Regions from separate parts of the Homo sapiens genome. Here all the other regions are linked to region 1. Evidence: promoter capture Hi-C in 16 types of primary human blood cells and fetal thymus (Javierre and others, 2016). All regions are on one chromosome and are shown on one strand. The core of a region is centred on a gene start or on the middle of the fragment in contact, and the rest is flanking DNA. Distances in the headings are between cores, read along the strand shown. Region 1 holds the start of NOP53 (NOP53 ribosome biogenesis factor). Region 2 holds the start of MEIS3 (Meis homeobox 3). Region 3 overlaps KPTN (kaptin, actin binding protein).

What was found. Contacts are between HindIII fragments. The CHiCAGO score rates a contact against its expected background, and 5 or more counts as called.
Region 2: the fragment with the promoter of MEIS3 here is called in contact with the fragment with the promoter of NOP53 in region 1 in 2 of 17 cell types (M0 macrophages and activated CD4 T cells); the score reaches 5.4 in M0 macrophages.
Region 3: a contact is called between a fragment that was not itself captured here and the fragment with the promoter of NOP53 in region 1, in 5 of 17 cell types (M1 macrophages, endothelial precursors, naive CD4 T cells and 2 more). The highest score is 5.5, in M1 macrophages.

The regions. Positions count from the first base shown.
Region 1 is chr19:47,744,048-47,747,156 of GRCh38, forward strand. NOP53 (NOP53 ribosome biogenesis factor) reads left to right here and starts at 1,499. Exons shown (of 13, transcript NM_015710.5): 1 at 1,499-1,736; 2 at 2,920-2,984. The coding sequence starts at 1,513. RefSeq lists enhancers at 1,382-1,771, 2,192-2,692. The HindIII fragment of the contact is 20,370 bases long and covers 1-3,109 here.
Region 2 is chr19:47,417,825-47,420,933 of GRCh38, forward strand. MEIS3 (Meis homeobox 3) reads right to left here and starts at 1,703. Exons shown (of 13, transcript NM_001301059.2): 1 at 1,246-1,703. The coding sequence starts at 1,257. RefSeq lists enhancers at 1-789, 790-1,783. The HindIII fragment of the contact is 31,601 bases long and covers 1-3,109 here.
Region 3 is chr19:47,473,705-47,476,813 of GRCh38, forward strand. It overlaps KPTN (kaptin, actin binding protein), which reads right to left. Exons shown (of 12, transcript NM_007059.4): 10 at 3,099-3,109; 11 at 2,828-3,010; 12 at 1,446-1,840. The coding sequence ends at 1,712. Among named protein-coding and RNA genes, the nearest start is that of SLC8A2, 3.4 kb to the left of the region's middle. The HindIII fragment of the contact is 1,285 bases long and covers 830-2,114 here.

The sequences.
Region 1 (3,109 bases), core at 249-2,748:
TGCTCTGTCACCCAGGCTGGAGTGCAATGGTGCAATCACGGCTCACTGCACCCTCCAACTCCTGGGCTCAAGCGATCCTCCCACCTCAGCCTCCCGAGTACCTGGGACTACAGGCGCACACCATCACGCCTGGCTAATTTTTAAATTTTTGGCAGACACAGGATCTCACTATGTTGCCCAGGCTGGTCTTGAATTCCTGGGCTCAAGCGATCCTCCTGCATCGGCCTCCCAAAGTGCTGGGATTAGAGGCGTGAATCACCACGCCCTGCCATGGATCCCTTTGAATGGCTGCCAGGGCCCAAGAGCCTCTGAGCTTCCTTCCTTATTTGTAAATGACAAAGATGAGTTGATTCTAAGATGAAGCCTCAGAGGGCAAGGCAGTAACAATAGCTAACACTCAGATGCCAGACGCAGCCTTAAGCGCTTTACATATGTTTAATCTTCTGCATGACTTATGACGCAGATGTACTGTTATCATCTTTATTTTACAGATGAGGAAACTGAGGCACAGTGAAGTAGCCCGCTCAAGATGAATGATTCTGAGTCTGCACTTCTAGGGTCCTAAAAGTGTATGTTTCTAACATTCCTCTAATGTTCTGTGCTTCCAACTTTGATATTCCGAAAGTTACTTGATTTCTAAGATCCTAGGATTGGAACATTTGAGAGGACAAAACTTCTGAGATTGGAATGTGTGTTGTGCGGAATCTGCCACTGACGGTTCTGACTTTCTAAGAAAACGAGATTAAAAAATAATCAGGCCGAGCATGGTGGCTCACATCTGTAATCCTAGCATTTTCGGAGGCTGAGGAGGGAGAATCACTTGAGCCCAGGGGTTCAAGACCAGCCTGGACAACATAGTGAGACCTTTGTCTCTTAAAAAAAAACACACACACATCAGTTTGGACCGGGAGTGGTGGTGTGAGCCTGTAATCCCAGCGCTTTGGGAGGCCTAGGAAGGAGGATCACTTGAAACCAGATGTTTGAGACCAGCCTGGGCAACATGGGGAGGCTCCATTTCTACAAAAAATAAAAATAAAAAATTAGCCAGGTGCGGATGCACCCTTCTGTGGTCGCAGCTACTCGGGAGGCTGAGGTAGGAGAATCCCTGAGCTTAGGAGTTGGAGGCTGCAGTGAGCCATTACCCTTCCACTGCACTCCAGCCTGGGGGCAACAAAGTGAGACCTTATCTATTAAAGAAAAAAATCAGTTTGAGCAAAGACCCCAGGCGGCCGGGAAAGGTGTTCGCTTAAGGGCGAAAGCTAAGAACCTGCAACCTTCCCGTCTCTTTCCTACCACCCGCCGCCGTTAGGAATCTTCAGATCCCGCTGTAAAGAATGGAGGAAGGAGGAGCCATTTATCCTTTACCAAGATGGCAGCCTCCTGGCAACTCCAGTCACTTTATAAATATGGCTGCCACAGGAAGTACGTCACGGAAGAGGGTGGGAAATCTGCGCGCGCACGCTGCAAAGGGGCTTTTTGGGACGCCAGTGGCTGAGTTCTTCCTTTGACAAGATGGCGGCAGGAGGCAGTGGCGTTGGTGGGAAGCGCAGCTCGAAAAGCGATGCCGATTCTGGTTTCCTGGGGCTGCGGCCCACTTCGGTGGACCCAGCGCTGAGGCGGCGGCGGCGAGGCCCAAGAAATAAGAAGCGGGGCTGGCGGCGGCTTGCTCAGGAGCCGCTGGGGCTGGAGGTTGACCAGTTCCTGGAAGACGTGCGGCTACAGGAGCGCACGAGCGGGTACGTTGGGCGGGACTTCCGGGAGGTGGGACGGTTCCTGCGCCCAGGTGCAAGGCCAGGCGTGCTTGCGTGGACTCGTCGGGGGTCGGGGGTCGGGGGTCGGGGGTTGGGGGCTCCTGTCCCGGGGACCGCCGAGGAAATGGAGAGCATGGGCAGGGGACTCAGCATGGGAAGCTGGAGAGCTTGATAGAGTTACCAGATTTAGCAGATAAATATACAGGACGCTCAATTAAATTTGGATTTTAGGTAAACAATGAATAATTTTTAGCATAAATACGTTCCATGCATCCACCTTAGCTTGCTGTTTTCTAAATATGTGTGTGTGTGTATGTATATATGTGTGTGTATATATATGTGTATATGTGTGTATATATATATGTGTATATGTGTGTGTGTATATATATGTATATATATATGTTTTTCAGACGGAGTCTCGCTCTATCGCCCAGGCTGGAGTAGGCGCGATCTCAGCTCACCGCAACCTCCGCCTCCCAGGCTCAAGCGATTCTCCTGCCTCAGCTCCTTAGTAGCTGGGATTACAGGCGGGCGCCACCACGCTCGGCTATTTTTCTTTTCTTTTCTTTTTTCTTTTTTTTTTGAGACGGAGTCTTTCTCTGTAGTCCAGGCTGGAGTGCAATGGCACGATCTCGGCTCACTGCAACCTCTGCCTCCTGGGTTCAAGTGATTCTCCTGCTTCAGCCTCCCAAGTAGCTGGGATTACAGGCATGCACCACCACGTCCGGCTAATTTTTGTATTTTTAGTAGAGACAGGGTTTTGCCATGTTACAGGCCAGGCTGGTCTTGAACTCCTGACCTTAGGTGATCCACCCGCCCCGGCCCCCTAAGGTGCTAAGATTACAGGTGTGAGCCACCACACCCAGCCTAATTTTTGTATTTTTAGTAAAGGCAGGGTTTCACCATGTTGGCCAGGCTGCTCTTGAACTCCTGACCTCAGGTGAGCCACCCGCCTGGGCCTCCCAAAGTGCTGGGATTACAGGCGTGAGCCACTGCGCCTGGCAGTCCTTCCTAAATACTAAGTTCTGTAAACTGCTGGGCGAAGCCTTAGCCTGGAAGAGTCCGGTGGCGGGACTTGACTAAGCGGAAGATGAAGGCTGGACCTGCCAGGTTAAATCTCTTTCCTCTCCAACATCTCTGGCTGATGTTCTGCATTTCTGTCCCCCAGTGGCTTGTTGTCAGAGGCCCCAAATGAAAAACTCTTCTTCGTGGACACTGGCTCCAAGGAAAAAGGTGAGGAGAGGCTTTTGTGGTGTGGAATGGCGGTTATTCATTGTTAGTCAGCTTACGGTAGCCTCTGAGATCTGTGTTAATGATGTGGCTTGGAAGGCAAATATCTGCGGAAACAGGTCAACCTT
Region 2 (3,109 bases), core at 453-2,952, 330 kb before region 1:
ACTCCACTCGCCACGTGAATCTACCACACATGTAGACACAGCCATACACACCAACCCACGTGCACACTCATGTGTCAGTCACACCCAAATCCCCCCCCCCACACACACATGCACACACACATGCACACAGCCCAACACCAGGCACAAGAATGAATGCATGATTGAGACATTTGGCACATGGATGAATGAATGAATGAGGCATTTAGCACAGGGCCTGGCTCATGCTGTGAGCACTTGTTGCCGGAGAGGGTCACTCCGCACCACCATACAGACACGATTGCGCACCCAAGAGAAACACCATTATGGGGTAGGACGACCGCGTCCTGTCGTCACAGAACCATGCACCTGGGAAGCCAGGGGCACCTTCCTCTCATCAGGTCAAATCCCTTCCTCAGTGATGAAGACACGGAGGCTCAAAGAGGCAGCAGGACTCGCACGGGAAGAGGCTAGAACGTTCCTGCCTCGGACCCTCGCCTGGCTGGGCACCCTGGTTCTGTGTGTCCCACTCTTTCCCTCTCCCTCTTCTCCTAACTTCTCCTGTGCCCTGAAGTTGAATCCAACTGCTCCCCGCTGCTCAAGGCACTCTCACCAAAAGCGGTCCTCACAGCCTACCCGGAACCCCCAAAACGGGCGCGCGCCTCCTCCCCTGTCTTCTATCCCCGTTCCCATCCCCAGGGAGACAGGCTCCGTGGGGCCAGCAGCCTGGTGAGACCACCTCTCCCACCCCTGTCCCACTCCTAGCCCTGGAGAGGCAGGGGCGGCTTGGAACAAAAGTAGAGCGAAGGGAAGGACGGAGGAGAGCAGAAAAAAGGGGGGACGGTGAGGTGCGGGCGGCTGAGATGGAGGAGGAAGCCCAGGAACAGAGGAGAGAGACTGCGGGTGGGGGAGGGCAGAGAGAGGGGGATAGAGAGGCAGAAAGAGGGGGGAGACCAGGGACAGAGAGAGGGGGACAGAGAGGCAGAAAGGAGGAGGAGAGTGGGGCAGACAGAGGGGGACAGAGGGGCAGGGAGAAGGAGAAGCTAAACGATGGGGAGGAGGCGAGGCCGAGGGCCAGGAAGAGACACTTGGGGGCAGAGAGGGGGCACACAGGGACTGGGAGACCCAGGGGCGGAGGGAGGGGCAGAGAGAGAGCGAGGTGGTGTAGAGGACGGATGGGCTAATGGGGGCCAGCGCCGGAGAGTGGGGGATGCAGGGACAGGGGGTGCGGAAGCGGCCGGGACGCGGGGTCCCCGCCCCGAGACCTACCCTCCGGGCCATGGGCTGAGGCCGGCGGCAGCTCCTGGGTCCCTCCAGAGCCTGGCCGCGGGGGAGGGCGCAGCCCGGGGCCGCAGCCCCTGACGGCCCGCGGTGTTGACGCCAGGGGGTGGGCAGGAGGCCAGGCGCGCGCCCCCCCACCCCCGCCGCCGTCAGCGGCAGGCGCCGGGCCGGGTGGGGACTCCGCGCATGGACCCCGGCCCCCGCCCCCAGCGGGGGTCACGGCCAGGAGCGCATCGCCGCCGGGGCGGGGGCAGCAGGCGCAGGCGGGGCGCCCGAGGCCCCCTCCTCTGGGCCCCCCCCGTCCCTTCCCCGGCTCTGGAGGGAATCGAACCGTCCCGAGACGGACACACCGGGGACCGCAGGGGGCGGGGGGCGGCCCGGGGCGACGGAGGGTCCGGCGGCGGCTCAGGGGTGCTGGCAGCCGCGCTCCCCGTTCCCGGTCTCTCCCTTGTCTTGTGGAAATTAAACAGAACCACCAAGGAGCGGGATAGGGGATGAGCCAGAGTGAGCCTGCAGAGCTACAGCACGAGGGATTGGGGTTAGGGCAGCAGCAGCACTTCCGGTGGGAGTCGGGGAGGGGCAGGCTGTGGGGGGAGGAGAGGAAGAGACCGCGGCCCTGGTGCCCCCAGGCCCCTCCTCTCCTACCCAGGGCTGGGGTTCCTGCTCCGGGTTTCTCAGTCTCCCTCTTTCCCAGTCTCTCTCTCCTTGTCTCTCTCTGTCTCCGCTTCTCCCGTCCTTTCTCTCCTCTGGCTCTCTGTTCTCCGAGCCCCCTGGACACACCACGGACCCCCTCCCTGGCCATCTCCAGGGGTCACGTGGGAATCTGGAGTCTGGTCCCACCGTAGGCTCTCCCCTCTCTGAGGCTCGATTCCCCCTCTGCAGGATGGGCAGTGCGCTGGGGGCGGCGGGGGTGGGCTGTGGATAACGGAGAAACAGTTAAGCTAGAGGGTGCCAGGACTCAGGGTCTTGGCTGAGTCTGGGGGTCCCCATGCCGGCGGGCTCTGCCCCCGTGGCTGTCCTGCGGTGAGGCTGGCCGTTTAAGGCAGTCCGAGGGGAAGGGTCTGGAGGCCTTGCCTTTCCTCAAGGCCGGCGCACCCCAGATAGGGGTTTTGGAGCAGAAAATTAATTTAAATCACTTTTTAATTAAAGACACAAGGCCCTTTGGTCTGCTCCACCCCCACCTCACCCTCAGCCAAGACTTGGGGTGAGGGATGCAAGGGTTAGGAGTCTCTGGCTCTATTTGCTTTTTTGGGGGGTGGTGCATGCTAAGGTCCCCTTAGCCCAGGCTGATTCTGAAACCTAGAGGAGCAAGTGCGGCCTCATCTGACGGCCAGTGGTGGGGGGCGTGGACAGAGCAGGAAGGGAGGGAGGGGGCACCTGGGATGGGGATGGGGCCTAACTGGAGTGGGGAGGGAGGTAACTCCAGTGACGGTGTGATTCAGAGAGAGAGAGAGACAGAGACAGACGCGGGTGGGAGGAGAGAGAGAGAGAGGTGCAGACAGAGTGAGACAGACAGGAGGGGGAGGGAGTGGGGGACAGGAGCTCCAATAGAGACCCTGGAGTCGTCCCTGCCACCCCCAAAACAAGAGCAGGGGGCTTGGACTCTGAAGCATAAATCTTTCTAATTAAAGAAAGAGACGAGCTGTTGGGAAGGGAGAAATAAGTGTGTGGGAGAGAAATTGATTGGGGGAGGATGGAGGATGCCGGCGGGGGACGGAGGGAGCAGGGGGGAGGCTCCGGCTTTCTGAGGCTCTTCCTCCAGTCTTTCCCTCTGTCTGTCCATCCGTCTGTCTGTCCGTCTCTGTCTCTCGCTCTCTCTCTCTCTCTCTCACACACACACACACACACACAC
Region 3 (3,109 bases), core at 222-2,721, 270 kb before region 1:
CGGCTTCCTCCAACTTCCCACGCCTGGGCCTGGCTTCTGGGAAAGAGGGTGAAGACAGGGGTGGCCAGGAGTTGCTGAGCTCCTAACTCCCATAAACGCTCGGTAGAGAACTGGTGGCTGGGTCTTCCCTGTCAGTGCTGGTGGTCAGACTTCTGAGTGGACCTCCATAGCGGGAGGTAGACAGATGGCCAAAATGACTACGGTGTCTGCCTCTCCCCTGAACCCCCAGGAAGCAGATGTCCTGCCCAACCCCTGCCCCCAGCCTGGATACGGCCCAGGGAATGATCATCCCCCAACCCTGCTGACCCAGATTCTATTCCTGGCCTGCAGTGGACGGAGGACAAGACTTCCATCGTTCCCACCCTCCACTGATCCTAGAGACACAGGCCTCTGATTCCTTCTCCTGGTAATACAGAACGGAGCACAGGAGGCCGGGCTCAGTGACTCACGCCTGTCATCCCAGCACTTTGGGAGGCCGAGGCGGGCAGATCACCTGAGGTCAGGAGTTTGAGACCAGCCTGGCCAACACGGTGAAACCCTGTCTCTACTAAAAATACAAAAAAATTAGCCAGGCGTGGTGGCGTACGCTTGTAATCCCAGCTACTCAGGAGGCCGAGGCAGGAGAATCGCTTGAACCAGGAGGTGGAGGTTGCAGTGAGCCGAGATCGCGCCACTGCACTCCAACCAGTGCATCAGAATGAGACTCCGTCTCTCACACACACACAAAAGACCACAGGCAAGGCAACTCCTACCACCACAGGCTGGGAGAATCAGGCTTGTCTCCCACTCCCTGGGCCCCCAACCCCCTAGGCTTTTTAGATTAGGTCTAAGCTTAGCCCTTTCCAGCATGGTCTAGCCTGGGTCTTCTCCCTGGGTCTTGCCTCAGTGCTCTCCACTGGGAACTAAGCTCACTTTCTGCTGGGGTTTAACCCTGGCCCCTTGCACAGGATCTGGCCATAGCAATTTTTTGTTGGGGTCCAACCTCAGCATTATTCATAGGGAGTCTAGCCTCAGACCCTCTGCTACAAATGGACCACTGCTTTCCCACAGCAGCCCTTTCTACCCACAAGTTTTCCTCTAAACGCTCAAGCTCCTTACCTTTCCACTGGGATCTACCCTTAGATCTAGATCTTTCCACTGGGGTCTCATGTCAGCTCTCTCCACTAGGGTCTAACCTCAGCTCTTTCCCTTCCATTTTACGTAATCTGTTCCACAGTGGTTTAACTTTTAGCCTTTCTGCTAAGGTGTCACCCCATTTCTTTCTCTTGGGTTCTACCCTGGGATCTAACCTCCGGCCTGTATCTGGGTCTAGCCTTGGATTCCCTCTCCCCCAAATCCCTCTCCCTCAATTCCTCTGGGTGAATCCAGCATCCAACACAGAGCCAGGCATACAGCAGGTGCTCACCAAATGCTTGCCGAAAAAAAGAATCGAGACAACTGGGAAATGATGTTCTTCTGGACGTATAAATAACCATCAGGTGGCCAATTCTCATCCAGAGTGGACAGGGTGGAATGGGATCATCCCTGCTTTCAAATAGGGACATTGACGTACAGAGAGAGGAGTGGGTTAGCTGGGGCCCCAGGGCACAGCTTCACCACCCTGGGGAGGTCTGGGGAGAGCATCCTGTCCTTCAGGACACCCCCCACCAGCGGCTGGAGGTGAGCACGCCATGAGTCGCCCCAGGTCTGGGAAGAGTGGGTGCATGGGTGCTTAAGAGGCTGCATTCTCAGCAGGCCCTGCACCTGCCCCGTCCTCCAACCCCTGTAGCCGACGTCTCCTCTGCTCCACTTGATGTCGAAGCCGGGTCAAGACCAGCTCTGAGGCCTGAATCAGGCTGTGCTGTGGGGAACAAGAGAATGAGGGGGATGGAGCTGAGGAAGAGCTGTGGGACCACAGCGGGACCGTCTGGAGTGAAGCAACTCCAAAGGCCAGGAGCTCGGCCCACGTGGGAGGGCAGAGAGCAGACCACAGTGTGTGGGATGGGAATGGGCCTCTGTGACAGGGGTGAAGGGGAGTGGCCTTAAGCGAATTTCTAGTGGGAGGGACAAAGCCTAGACCCAAATGTAAGGAAGTGAGATTAGAAGGAATATAAAAGGAATATAAAATTTAGCCAAGCTTGGTGGCAGGTGCCTGTCATCCCAGCTACTAGGGAGGCTGAGGCAGGACAATCACTTGAACCTGGAAGGTGGAGGTTGCAGTGAACTGAGATCACACCACTGCACACCAGCCTGGGAAACTGCACTCCAGCCTGGGAAACAGAGCAAGACTCTGTCTCGAAAACAAACAAACAAACAAAAAAACCAAAAAAAAAAAAAAAAAGGCCAGGGTGTGGTGGCTCACACCTGTAATCCTAGCACTTTGGGAGGCCGAGGTGGGCGGATGACTTGAGGCCAGAAGTTTGAGACTAACCTGGGCAACATGGTGAAACTCCGTCTCTACTAAAAATACAAAAATTAGCTGGGCGTGGTGGCGTGCGGCTGTATTTCCCAGCTGCTTGAGAGGCTGAGGCATGAGAATTGTTTGAACCTGGGAGGTGGAGGTTGCAGTGAGCTGAGATCGAGTCACTGCGCTAGAGCCTGGGTGACAGAGCAAGACTCTGTCTCAAAAATAAAATAATAAATAAATAAATAAATCTCCTTCACCAGGCCGGTGCCCCCACCCCAGCTGCTGTGAGCGCTCACAGCTGCCCCTTTCTCCTGGGAGTTGTCCTGACTGGTAGGAACTGCCTCCCTGAAATGAGTTCCTCCCTCCCCCAGGAGGAGGCCTGCACCCCCTGCTCGAAACTGCTGAGGTCGACTCCCCTCCCACCCCAAGAGCTGGGGATACCTGCAGGATGTGCACGCCCTTCAGGGAGACCACGGCAAGCTCCTGCAGCCCATCCCCGGTCAGGTCCACGTGAGCCATGGCCAGCAGGGGACTGGAGAAGCTCCGCTGCCACAGCAGATGGAACCCGTGCTGGGCCTCAGGAAGCCCCGACTCTGGGCCCCGGTACTTATAACACAGCAGTTCCTGCGGGGGTGAAGAATCAGGTCACACAGGTTGATGGGGGGACAGTGGAGGGAGGCCGGTGGGTGTGGCTCCAACTGTCAGGTCCCACCTGTCCATAGG